4 separate regions of the Homo sapiens genome follow, and all the other regions are linked to region 3. The links are contacts of gene promoters, found by promoter capture Hi-C in blood cells and fetal thymus (Javierre and others, 2016). All regions are on one chromosome and are shown on one strand. The core of a region is centred on a gene start or on the middle of the fragment in contact, and the rest is flanking DNA. Distances in the headings are between cores, read along the strand shown. Region 1 has its middle 15 kb from the start of SPCS3-AS1. Region 2 has its middle 59 kb from the start of SPCS3-AS1. Region 3 holds the start of NEIL3 (nei like DNA glycosylase 3). Region 4 overlaps SPCS3-AS1 (SPCS3 antisense RNA 1).

Region 1 (3,459 bases), core at 497-2,996, 970 kb before region 3:
GTTGTGTGGGTCTCGCTCAAATTTATTTGAGAAATCCATGGCTTATCCAACTGTGCAGCCTCTGCTGCTGCTTTAAGAATCTCTAAATGCTGTTAATTCTCTGCACGTGCACCGACAACCCAGGATGACTAAAAGTCTAACTGGGAATCACACTTAATTGAGATTAAGAGAGAGATTGATTGCTACCTGACTCTTGCCCTCATCTCAACATTTGAAAGTCTGATTAAACATTCTGTTAGTTAAAATAACACCAAGTGCTATGATAGGTGACATCAAACTTTTGGTAGCATAAGAAAAAGTTTGGGCACGGTGGCTCACGCCTATAATCCCAGCACTTTGGGAGGCTGAGGGGGATAGATCACGACATCAGGAGTTCAAGACTAGCCTAGCCAACATGGTGAAACCCCATCTCTACTAAAAATACAAAGATTAGCTGGGCATGGTGGCATGTGCCTGTAATCCCAGCTACTGGGGAGGCTGAGGCAGGAGAACTGCTTGAACCTGGACCTGGGAGGCGGAAGTTGCAGTGAACCAAGAGCTCCACTGCACTCCAGCCTGGGCTACAGAGTGAGACTCCATCTCAAAAGAAAACAAAAGTTTATTTCTCGTTTTTACAAGGAACCAATGTGGGTATTGAGGCAGCTTTCCACATGGTGTGACTGAAGGACCCAGGTGTCTTCCAGCTTGTGACTGCCGCCCCAGGGTTGACAAGACCTCACTTGAAGTTGGCAGTCTGGGGTTGAGGAAAAGAGTGGAGAAGGCCCACCTGCTTAATTAGCTTCGCCCAGAGTATCACACCACCAACTCGCATTCCAAGGGTGAAAACGAATTGCACGTCCCTGTGCAGATAAGCAAGGGGCATCTGGGAAGTACAATCTTTAGTTGGGTAATCACTTCTCAGGAACAACTATGTGGTGGATGGGAAGCATAAATCTTTCTCACATAGTCATTCTATCACTTTCTGCTTATGCTCACCAGCTTAAGCTGACCAGCCCCTGTTGTATCCCAGCAGGGAATACCAGTTTATTATAGTCAACATTTATTTATCTTTTTGTGTCTTGTCTGTAGTGCATTAAGGATTTTCTGAAGGTGAGCATATTAGATGTTAAGGGTTAGATTTTAAAGCACTTATCAGGCATGAGTTACCTGATCTAATCTCTAGCCTAATCATCCAGTACTTAATTTTTTTTTCCTGGAACATTATTTCCTTACTTTGCAGCAGCATTTATAGCTCTTGCTGCCCTTGGGAATATATATATACACACACACACACACACACACACACACACACACATATATACATATATATATGTTTCATGTTTGTCAGTTTCATGAGCAAGAAGGCTATGTTTATCTTGTTCATTTTACTATAAGACACTACATATTTACTGAGTAAATTGAATTAAAAGCAAAAAATGTGTGATTAATTTTAGTTATATTGGCTTACACAGGTGTTTTGTCTCATGTAAGGTAGGCATTTCAGGACATTCCATGACAGATTTTCAGAGGATAAATGAACTGGGTTTTTACTGTAAAATGTAATCTATCTCCTAGTAGTATCTCAGTGATAAATGTTTAACATTAATGGTAAAGGGAGGTATATGGAGTAACTTATATTTGAAAAGTATTAGGCTAAGGACATTCATAAGTCCTTGTGAATTAATGTCTTTCACCTTTTTTTTTACATTTGTAATGGAAAAAAGGAAATGTGGAAAAGTTTATGAGATATTTGTATATAGTTTACTGAATAATATAAAGCATGTGCCTTTGTAACTACTACTCAGATCAGCAGTTGGAACAATACTATTACTCCATGCCTCCCTCCCTATACTTCTTCTGGATCACAACCTGTTACCTTTCTGCGGTCTTCAGTTTTGTGTTAGCCATTTTCTTGCCTTGCTTGAAAAGTTTACTACCTCTGTTGCATCCTATCAGCTTTACTGCCATCATGGACAATAGGAACATCTCAGTGGCTTACAAAAACAAATGTGTATTTCTTGCATCAATAGGGGCTTAGGATATACTCCTCACATCTCTTCATTCCAGATTCCACATTGAGAGAAAAGTTCCTTTTGGGATTCCAAAGGGCAGTTAGAACTGTTGGAAACTCTTGGAGCCTCTGATTGAAGGTGATGAGCATCAGTCTACTCCTTTAATTGACTCAAGTATGTCACATGGCAAAGCCAAGGAGTTGAAGGGTTGGGGAGCTAGATTCCATAGGGAAAGAGCACAAGTCACATGGCACTGAGTAATACTCTTACAGGAAAGGAGGAGGGAATTCTTAGAAATGTAATATAAGCTATCACACATTCCTAAGCGATACAGTTTGGTTTGGTTTGGTTATGAACATAAATGTAATCTTACCATAAGAATTTTTGGTCTTGCTGCTTTGGCTTAGCATTAACTTTAAGAGAATCATTTATGTTTTTGTGTGAAGGTGTAGTTCATTTTCATTGTTAGGCAGTAATTCATTGTAATATAGTCATCCATAGTAGGCATCCGGAGTAGGCATAATTTATTTACCTGTTCTGTTGACAGACATGTGCTCTGAATGTTCTTGTACAGGTAGCCTGGTGTATGTGTTTCTCTAGGAAAGGGATCTTCACATTTTGTTGCTTGTGTAGCACATCAAAGATTTTTTTTAAACTTTCTTAAATACTGAAAAATTTTCATCTTGTCATAGAATGTAATTTTTGGCACATTGCAAGTATTAACATTTTAAAGTACCAACTGCACATTACTTTTTTTTGCATTACTTTAAAAATGTATCTAAATGTATCCAGTGGAATATGGTATTTATATGATTTGATAGAATCATTCATTTTCTAATGAACAAATTCTTCCTTAGTGGTCAAAGTTCTTATCATTTCTTTTTCAAATTATATTTACATGCCTCTAGCAAAATTTTGTCCTAATGGGTAATACTCTAGAGAGTGCTATTTTCAAGTCTTTTATTAATAACTGTACCACATTTCTTTGTAACAAAAATGTGCATGTAAATTGAAATTTATCTTTTACAATTTCCTCTGACCCCAATATTCTAAGTTCTAAGGGTGTAAAAGTTATTCTGGAGTAAGTTAATTCTGCAGTTATCAATAGTACACAGTTGATCAAAACAAGAAGTATATTAGAAATGTGATAGATAATCGTAACTCTTGATGAGATGGAATTAGATATGGGAGGGGATAATTTATGTTGCTTTCATTAAGGGAATTATTAAATTATTTCTTTGTCCCCAAGGTTTGATGCCTTGTGGCAGTGCACCATAGCAAGATTCTGGATGAGGTGAGGCTTTCTTTGTGAAAGGGATGATGGAGGGAAAGAACCTCAAGCCTGGGCGCATTACCAGCCAGATCACTTTAGAAGTACGTGTGAGAGCAGAGCTGATTTCCATACAGCTGTCTGTCACCATGCACAAAGTTCCATGTTCCTCCTAATCGAAGACCACTGCTCTAGCAT
Region 2 (3,383 bases), core at 166-2,665, 930 kb before region 3:
AAAATGTGTAACTAGAAAATAAATGAGAAGCCAGAGAAGACATGCAGAGAATTTAAATTTGCACTTGTGGTAAAATAATCTGCACTTGCGTAGGAGAAGACAAATCACTCCTTGATGTCAATGTACGGTTATGATTTTACTCATACTTTAGAATTTTAAAATGTCATGTAGTGTGATATATATTCATGCAGATGTGGGTGAAACAATGTGCTTTTTAATCATTCCTGCTACAATCACAAACAATCATTATGTCTAGCCATTGATCCTAGCACAGGGCTTGTCAGGTAAGGGCAGATTTTATAAAACCTGGGTAAAACAAGCTTAATTTGCGTAAATTGAGTTTTTTTCTAAAAGTGAGAGGGTACCTTTTTAAAGAAAATGTAGTAAATGCAAAAGTCAATGAATCCTTGGATGTTTCTCAAACTATCTTTGTGTTTTAAATCTACTTTCTCATTTTAATAGGAATTAATCATTTATCCTCAAGGAATATTTTCCTTAAAAGGGAAGAATATTACCAGTTTTTCTCAACAAATCTCGAATTCATTGTGGGGAAACTGATGATGTCTCTTCATTTGTTTTGTGATTCTTGTATTTTAAATCAGTTCATTGAAACAGCCTGGCTGAGTGCTGTATTTAAGTATAGAAATTTCTGCTCATATCTGGTGGCTCTTGCTGAAGGAGGGACATAGAGCTAGAATGCTTGTCAGGGATCCCACCTTAACCTGCTCCTGCCCCTTAGATAGATCCTCATTGTCTACAGGCCATTTGCAACCAGGCGAAATAAAAATTACCATGTTTCTCTTTATTTTATTTATTGAAGATTTTTGACTTTGTATATAATTTACATAGCTTTTAAATACAAAAGCTAGTTTTAAGGAATGTATATTAAACAGTGGTTATTTGCCAGGACAAAAGATACCATACTAGAGAAAAGCTAGGAAAAGAAGAAACATAGTTTCATACTAAACAACTATTTAATAATTTTAAGAAAAACAGTACAGTTTAATATTTGAGAAGGGAAATATGCTATCATTCTGAAAATCTTGTATGCAGAAAACTCTTAGTTTTCTAACCTAATGGTAGTTTCTATACTAGATTTAAAACTTTTTGTACTAGGCCTTTTCCTCAAAAACTTCTGTAAAACCTTAAATGTTTTATTATCAATGCATATATAGGAATGCATATATAGGAATTTACAAAGTAAAAGAAGAGAGCAATACTCATGTCTGTCATTGATTCACACATTGTCCCCTTTAGATGTGACTGAGAGGGTGGTGGCTCACGCCTGTAATCCCAACACTTTGGGAGGCTGAGGCAGGTGGATCACCTGAGGTCAGGAGTTCCAGACCAGCCTGGCCAACATGGCAAAACCCCTTCTCTACTAAAAATACAAAAAATAGCCAGGCATTGTGGCAGACGCCTGTAATCCCAGCTACTTGGGAGGCTGAGGCAGGAGAATCGCTTGAACCTGGGAGGCAGAAGTTGCAGTGAGTGGAGATCATGCCACTGCACTCCAGCCTGGGCAACAGAGCAAGACTCCATCTCAAAAAAAAAAAAAAAAAGAAGAAGTGACTGAGTACTCAGTTATCCAGCTTTTAGGGCAAAGTGATCAAATGATAACAGAAAGGAAGAGGCAAGAGAAGGATTTTACAAATACAAATAGTAATGATGGTCCAGGGACATGATGGAAATCGCAGGATGAAGCAGAGAAGGGAGCTCTGTGTGTTCCCTGGGTGGAGATTGTACTAATGAGCTGCTCACATTTGAGAAACACAGATTGATGAGCTTCTCTGGCAATTGTTATGCAGCAATATTCCCATAAGAAGTCACAGTAGTTATCACAGTATCAGAGCACCGTAAAATAAACACATTGCTTTTTCCATGAACTTGAATATTTAATGTTAGAGATGAGTACAATGGAGGCAAATAAATCCTCTCCTCATTTCCTCACATCCCTACTTTTAAAGATTGTCAGGTATTCAATCTCTATCATAGTTGTTTGAGACTTTAGGTCCCTATAGTTTATCATTTTCCAGTAATGTTTTTGAAATGCAATAATTTAAAGATCTCTCGACTCTTGGATTTACATTACAAATGCTGGTGATACAAAAATTTCATTTAAATTAGTCTAGACCATGAAGTATGGACTTTTAGCATATTATATTGTAAATTTGAAATTGAAACACTGTCATGATCTTTTTTTAAAGAATTTAAAACTAGTATTTAAATATTATAAGTTTTTCTCTGAGAAATGTTTTACAATTGTAGTTTATAGTTCTGAGGACTGAGAGTGTAGGAGATTTGCTTAAAACAAGAATGGAGATCAGAGCTAGGGTGTCTACTATATTCAACATTTTTCAAAATTCGCTCTGCCACCTGTCAAGAGCTGAGCTGAGCTGGAGAGAGCTGAGACGCCCGTGGTGGAGTGGTCAATTAAGACAACAAGCCAAAGTGAAAGTAACAGCCAATCCTTTAATGACTTTCTAAGGTAGTAGAATAGGCAAGAGGAAAAAGCTTAACCATTTTAATGTTCCTTTTTTCTCCACAGAAGGGCACTGGGTGAAGGTCCAATGTATCAGTGCACACGGGGGAGTGGGGCGGGGAATTATCTCACCACCTACGTACGGGAGCCCGAACAAAAGGCTCTGGCCATTTTATGGACCCAGGGGTGGGGATGGGGGTGAGCTGGAGAGGGGAGGACTAGGTGTGGGAAACAGTGAATATTGAGTCAGAGAGAAAAAAGAGGCTTCAAGTGTCCTCCCCAGTGAGGAGGCCTCCGCAGAATGACCCGATGAAGAGACCTCCTCTCTCTGAATGCAGGGAGGGCTAGAGATGCAGATATGCATAAGCGCATGGTGCTGAGGATGGAGTGACTGAGCCCTTGACTGCAGCTCCCTTCAGAGACTGCAGTTTACTGGCTGCACACAGTCTGGTGTGGGGAGGACAATTTTTCCCTGTGAAGCCTGCCAGGTAAATCCTTTGCAATTGTCTGTGGTAGGGTTTGAAAGATGATTATAGGTTTTTGGCTAGGAGCTGGACTCCTCACCACTGTCTCATTTCAGGCCTCCATCACCTCATTTTGGGATTATTAGAGGTGCTTTTATCCATTCTCTCCACTTCTCTGAAGTTTTTTTCCAGCATGATCCATCATGCTCTTGATTGCCAGATTGCTTGCTTCTAAATCACTAGATCACTAAATCACTGTATCGTTCCTCTACTTTGGAATCTAGTATGTATTATTTTTATACCAAACTCGAGCCACTCAGGTGAGCATGTAAGGCCTTTGTTTGATGGGCTTCAGTTTATTTATCCATATTTTACTACTTCTTACAAAGTTTTCTCAGATTTTCCTAAGCCAATGATGCTCAATCAAGCTTGTACAA
Region 3 (3,128 bases), core at 543-3,042:
AATGACTGGCTTCTAATGAATGGAATAAGAAGTAAGTTACCATAGTAAACTAAGTAATAAAGGGTGACTAAGTAATAAAGGGCATTGCAGCTTTCTCCTTGACTTCTCTCTTGGATCACACTCTCAGCTGCCATGTCATTAGAAGAGCCGAGCTGCACTATAGAGACACAAGAGGTGAGAAACTGAGGCCTCCTGCCAACAGCCATGCAAGTGACTCATCTCGGAAGTGGATCTTTTAGCTACAAAAAGCCTTTGGGGCACTTTAGCCTTGGCTAATATTTTAACTGTAACCTCTTGAGAAATGCTGAGCCAGGATGACTCTGGCTAGCTAGACTATTGCCAAATTCCTGACCCACAGAAACTTTGAAATAACAAATGGGATAATTGATGAGGTAACAATAAATAACTAGTACAACGCTGAAAGAGGAGAAGGTATATAGGACTTTTCTCCATCAAAGGACAGAGATTATTGAATTGAACAAGGGAGTAAAGTACAAATAGTCCTGAAATTGATCCAGCCAACTTTTGATCACTAATCTCTCCCTGCAAAGGAAAGATTTAATACTTTTCAAAATTTCAATCAAGTCTTCAGTATATTCAAATTCAACTCTCTAGTATACAGATGCTCCTCAACTTACGATGGGGTTATGTCCTGATAAACCCGTTGTAAACTGAAAATACAGTAAGTCGAAAATGCCTTTAATATATCTAACCTACCAAACATCATAGCTTCACGAGGCCCTCCTTAAATGTGTTCAGAACACTTACATTAGCCTACAGTTGGGAAAAATCACCTAACACAAAGCATATTTTATAATAAAGTGTTGAATAATTTATTGACTACTGTACTGAAAATGAAAAACAGAATGGCTATATGAGTACTCAAAGTACAGTTTCTACTGTGTGTCACTTTTGCACCATCATACAGTCAAAACACTGTTACGCTGGGGCATCCTAAGTCAGCAACCACCTGTGTATATGCTCTTGTGGTTTAACGGCAGCACAGTGCTATGCTTATGAAATCACTTAGAAATTGACATTCTGTTTTAATGTGTAGTATTTCAGTTTTCAAAAAAGAATACACTTTATAATTTACAAAACTATATGGAGTCATAAACTTCATAGATTTATATGTATGCATGCATCTTTGGTTAGGGTTGTGGGTAAATTTGAAAAGCTACGCATTACCCTCAAATTTATATAAACCTCTACGTTTAACAAAGCAATTTCATATAGCTTTCATCTTGGGGCGTCCCCTTACAAAATGGATGCATGCACTTAGGTAGGGCTCACTTAACTATCTAATAATGGAGTTTTTAAATATAGACACTAGAATATATTCTGCTGTTTGTTCCAAAAACCCTCTTCTTCGTTTCTCTTATCCCACCCACGTCCGAATATAGCATGCCAAAAACAGAGCCAAAAACAAGATTGTCTGTGACATATCTGTCCTGTCACAGACAAGGACAGATTAAGAGGACCAGATCAGAAAATGTGTGTATACTAAGTAGCTCAAAGACAAGGGCAAAACTTTAACGCAAAGAAAATACATTCAGAGCTTTCCAAGTCCCAATTTCTTCTGCTTTTACAGTTCAGCCTAGTTAGTTGTCCTCCACGCCCCCCGCCCCACGCGCGTTTGCGTTTTCTTAATAAACCCACAGCAAGACCTAGGGCGGGGGTGAACCACAGCGCATGCGCCGTAGGGAGCGACCTCAACAGCTAGGGTGCTGTTTGGGCGGGGCCTGGGCGGGGCCAGACGCGCGCGAGATTTGAATTTCCTCTGCGTGCGGTCAGTGCCCGCGCAGCGTTGAGTTGCACAGCGGTATTCTCACCAGGCCCTGCAATCGGTGGGCCACAGTGCCGGCCACAGAGATGGTGGAAGGACCAGGCTGTACTCTGAATGGAGAGAAGATTCGCGCGCGGGTGCTCCCGGGCCAGGCGGTGACCGGCGTGCGGGGAAGCGCTCTGCGGAGTCTGCAGGGCCGCGCCTTGCGGCTCGCAGCCTCCACGGTTGTGGTCTCCCCGCAGGTGAGCTACTCCTGTAACAGGCCATGCAGTCAGCAGGGGGGAAATGGAATAAAGACCCCATCAGGGTTCCAGGATTTAAAGTGTCATCTCTTTGCTCTGGCCCAGGTTTCCTGGGGTCCCACCTTTCACAGAGTTTATCGTCACTTTACTGTAGGGAGAAGTCGGTCCTAGCGCGCCTGCGCAGGAGAGGAGGGCTAGCGTTCTGGGCTCACGCTGCCGGAGCAAGATGCCCTAGGGGAATCCAGTGAAGGTGTTTTATCCGAGTCACCTTACTTAACTTCTTTATGATACACACATGGTTTCCCATGTCTACAGCTGCATTTTTTACTATTGATATTATCAAATCTCTGCTACCTCTGATATGTTTTCTTCGTCCCATTTTAAGCTTTTAGCATAAAATTCTACTTTCTTGCTTGGCTAATCTGCAATTGGTAAGTATATCACAACTAGTATATAATTCTAAAACTACACGTAGAAAATTTAGCACTAACTTCTCACTCAACTTCATATTGCCATCTAATTAAGGGGCAATGAAACCCAGTTCTGGTTCCCTTAAGTGAATTTATTTCTTTTTAAAGTAAACTAGCACAGCTTCTTGCCACTCAGGCATTCATTGCAGACGATGTGGTATTCATTTGGCCAGAACTTGTACTAAAAATATTCTGATTAAGGCATCATGTTTTAAAAGCCCTCTAGATGTATGGATGATTGTATTTCATGCCTACATGCAATATTGCACTGTATTTCAATTTCTTCTGCAAAGCTTCTTATAGCCTTTGGTCCTGGAAGAAAAAGTTGCCTGCTATGAAATTAGCATATGCTTACAACTTGAAAGAAATGAGGTTCTAAGTCTAAGAAAATATATTTTCAAACTTGGGAAAAAATAAGTTTTACATCTCCTTCCAATTGCCCTTTTGTTTATTTTGACTTGATATGCCAGTAAGTACTCTGTACCTATTTTTTTTTATTATTGTTATAGTGTTTCTAAAATCGTTTCAGGGTACCACAGAGATGGATTTTAGATGGTTTCTTAAGAATATTAATATTTATGAAAATTACTCATTCAATAAAATTTTGAATACTCAAGACACCTGGGGAGC
Region 4 (3,586 bases), core at 415-2,914, 990 kb before region 3:
CATCCGTCTCAAAGAAATTACTTATCTACTGAGAGCCTACATGGTCATGACACTCAACTGATCTAAAATCCTCAAAAGTTCGTTATTGTCTCCTGAATTATGATCAAACTTATTAGCCTGGCACTCAAGCCTTTTACAATTTGTCCTTGGCCTACATATTCAATTTAGCTTTACACTTTACCATTTTACCCATTTACACTTTAACTGTTCGTTACCTGTGTGTGACATATATGCTTTACATGAGAATTCTTTCAAAAATATCATGATCTATGATTTCAAGGTATCTCAATTCAATAAGAATTTTTTTGACCATCTACTACGTGCAAGGCTCAGTGTCCTGGGCACTGAAAGGGATAGAAAAATGAACAAGACCTGATCCCCACTCTCTATGATGAACAACATAATTCATAGTCACTTTCTGAAAACCATTTGAGTCCTTAATGTGCTAGATCTATAACATGCTCCATTGCAGGAACTTCCCTGGGGAGCTTGGTGCTTTGTGGACTCTTTGGATATTCCCAATAACACCATATTTAATTAGAACGTTTTTATTGGCCGGGCGCAGTGGCTCATGCCCATAATCCCGGCACTTTGTGAGGCCTTGGCGGGCGGATCGGCTGAGGTCGGGAGTTCAAGACCAGCCTGGCCAACATGGTGAAACCCTGTCTCCACAAAAAATACAAAAAAATAGCTGGGCGTGGTGGCGGGCGCCTGTAATCCCAGCTACTCGGGAGGCTGAGGCAGGAGAATCACTTGAACCTGGGAGGTGGAGGTTGCAGTGAGCTGAGATCGCGCCATTGCACTCCAGCCTGGGCAACAAGAGCGAAATTCCATCTCAAAAAAAAAAAAGAAGGCTTTTATTATATCTTTCAGTTTATCCCCTTTTTAAAAAGCATTATCTGGCCATGTGCACACAGCTTTATTTAAAGATTTCCTTATAAAGTGATTTATTGTTCTTACCTCTTCTTAGCTTGGTGTTACAGAAGAATAATTATTTGCAAATATGAAGATCAAAACTTTACATTTATTCTAGGTTTCTTTCTATCCTTCAGAAATACAGTTAGGCATGTCTTTCCCAGCTGATCGCTATTTACTCAAGCGCTGACAAAGCATGCCAATCGCTCCCCCCATTACTGCCACTAGGTTCTGAGCTGAAATCATTAAAGAGTACAAGACACTTAGTTTAAAAATGCTACGTATTAATTTAAGGTCTGTAATACTATTTCAGATAAACAGCCTCAGTTTCCTTCAGTACAACCTCAGTGTTTGACTAGTAGTATTTGCATCAAAAAGCATTAAAAATAAAATAACACGTTACAATGTTGAAGACTACCATTCATAATGAAAATGTAACTATTATTAATACTTGCTTACCAAATAATATATCAACAATTTTTGTGAAGGAGAAACTATAGGAGATGTGAGAATAAACAGACAAAACACAGTATTGGAGATTTTAACAAATCTCTCAGAATCCAAGAAAATGAAGGTAACAAATATTACTACAGATGTAAAAGACATAAATAACATAATCAATAAGGCAGATCTCATAGGTATCTATCAAATTCTATATACTATTAAGAGGAAATACCTTCTTTCAAGTTGCACATTGAATTTTCACAAAAGTGACATTTTAGGCCACAAAGAAGACCTCAATAATCCAAAGAATAGAAATATACAAACAGCATTCTCTGCCTACATGATTTAAAATCAGACATTAATTTAAAGCAATCAAAAGGAAAAATGGTACTTTCTCTTGGAAATTCATAGTCAGAAATTTTAGGATACAGCTAAAGCAGTTACCATAACAATAAACATGAAAAATATACCAACTAAATATCCAATTTCCAAAGCTAATAAACAAAAAAAGTGGAATGAAAAAAGTTGATAGTGTTAAAACCAAAAATTAATGAGTTGGAAAACAGTAGAGTTAATTAGTAAATGCAGAAGTGCTTTGAAAGAAAACAAGAAAAAATACTAATTAAAACAATAAATGAAAAAGGTAGAAAGCACAAGTATACATAATTAGAATTAACAATTAATAATTTAAAAAAAATAGAAGAATAGACTCCCTTGGGAATTTCTACCAAATTTTCTATCAAATTTTTAAAGACCAGATCCAAATGCTACTTAAAATATCCCAGTGCACAGAAAACTAAGGAAAACTTATTTTCCTTGTTATATTAGAAATATATATTTTCTAATTTGAGTATAATATTACAATCAAAAAAACACATCAGTTTCACTATGAATATTGATTACACAAACTAAAAAACAAAAAACCCCAAAATTAGCAAAGAAAGCACAAGAGCATATTAAAAACTAATTCATCATGACCAGGTGGAGTTTATTCCAGGAATGCTTACTGGGCCAATATTATAAAATCTATTCATATAACCCATTAAATAAGCAGAGGAAATAAGATAGAGGAAAGAAGTAGAGGAAATAAGATAGGGAAAATGCATCTGAAAACAATTTAGCACTTGTTTATATTTTTAAAAATTTCCCAATAGGAATAGATATTTCCTATCAATATGCAATATATATTATATAATGATACATGTACACACACACACACAATTTCCATCTCAAAGCCAACATCTTACTTGATGGAGAAATGAAAGGAAATTTCCTGCTCAAATCAGGAACAAAAAGATATCAGTTGTCCCCATCTGACTGAATATCATGTTGGAAATATTAGCTACTGAAATGAATAAACAATTGGAAATATAATAATTGGAACGGAAAAGGCAAAATGATATCTAATGTAGGTGATATAAATGTCTAGAAAATCTAAAGAAACACTTGGAAAAATAAAACAGAATAAGAAAATTCCCTATCCCATCCCTCTCCTGCTCTTTTTGTGGACTTTTATGTGTTTTTAGCACTACCAGTAAGTCAAGTTAAAAACTGTGGTGTCATAATAATAATACTAGTTTCATTTGAGTGTTCACAATCTGCATTCACTCTATGCTTTGCAGACCCCCACTCTTATTTAGGCAGTTGCTAAGTAACATAGAGTTTGTTTCCGAAATGCCCCTCCTATCAGTCTTCCTTTTGGGTCCATCACTCACTCTCCACATATAACTGGTAAATGGTTGCCTGTGTAGCGATGCTTGTTTTACATGTAATTTCCCTGATATAAAGTCAACTTCTTGACCTGGTTTTCTACCATAACTTACCTTTCCAGGCTTATTTCTGCTTACTCTTTTATACATGCATTGTTTATCAGGACCAGCCTTCTGAGTATCTCTTAGATATACCTGTACTTGCAGTTCAACAACAAGAATTATTTCCCTAAAACATGCTATAATAATAATGTGTCTTGTTTAGGCTTTGTGTTAAATAATTTGCACACTGTGTTGTCCCACATTACCAGGGCTGTAATTCCTTCCTCCTTTGCTATGTAACTTCCCAGGGTATTTTTTTGTTTTACATTTCAGATTTGTTTTTATTTTATTAACTCTACCTGATTATATACTTTTGAGTGTAGAAAGTGATCAGTACAATCTCTGTATCACTTGCAGTATAGATGGCATTCAATAAAAATCCTTTTTTTTCTTTTTTTGTTAACAAACTGTGCCAG

The links. The method cuts DNA at HindIII sites, captures the fragments that hold promoters and counts their contacts. A CHiCAGO score of 5 or more calls a contact.
Region 1: a contact is called between a fragment that was not itself captured here and the fragment with the promoter of NEIL3 in region 3, in 1 of 17 cell types (monocytes). The highest score is 5.3, in monocytes.
Region 2: a fragment that was not itself captured here is called in contact with the fragment with the promoter of NEIL3 in region 3 in 1 of 17 cell types (endothelial precursors); the score reaches 5.4 in endothelial precursors.
Region 4: a contact is called between a fragment that was not itself captured here and the fragment with the promoter of NEIL3 in region 3, in 1 of 17 cell types (activated CD4 T cells). The highest score is 6.4, in activated CD4 T cells.

Annotation. Positions count from the first base shown.
Region 1 is chr4:176,333,382-176,336,840 of GRCh38, forward strand. No RefSeq gene overlaps it. Among named protein-coding and RNA genes, the nearest start is that of SPCS3-AS1, 15 kb to the left of the region's middle. The HindIII fragment of the contact is 4,185 bases long and covers 1-3,459 here.
Region 2 is chr4:176,378,129-176,381,511 of GRCh38, forward strand. It overlaps a transcript of LOC124900817 not described here. Among named protein-coding and RNA genes, the nearest start is that of SPCS3-AS1, 59 kb to the left of the region's middle. The HindIII fragment of the contact is 2,194 bases long and covers 319-2,512 here.
Region 3 is chr4:177,308,082-177,311,209 of GRCh38, forward strand. NEIL3 (nei like DNA glycosylase 3) reads left to right here and starts at 1,793. Exons shown (of 10, transcript NM_018248.3): 1 at 1,793-2,028. The coding sequence starts at 1,873. RefSeq lists a silencer at 1,674-1,793 and an enhancer at 1,874-1,963. The HindIII fragment of the contact is 15,817 bases long and covers 1-2,411 here.
Region 4 is chr4:176,315,089-176,318,674 of GRCh38, forward strand. All of the region lies in intron 1 of SPCS3-AS1 (SPCS3 antisense RNA 1), which reads right to left. Among named protein-coding and RNA genes, the nearest start is that of SPCS3, 3.1 kb to the right of the region's middle. The HindIII fragment of the contact is 4,304 bases long and covers 1-3,586 here.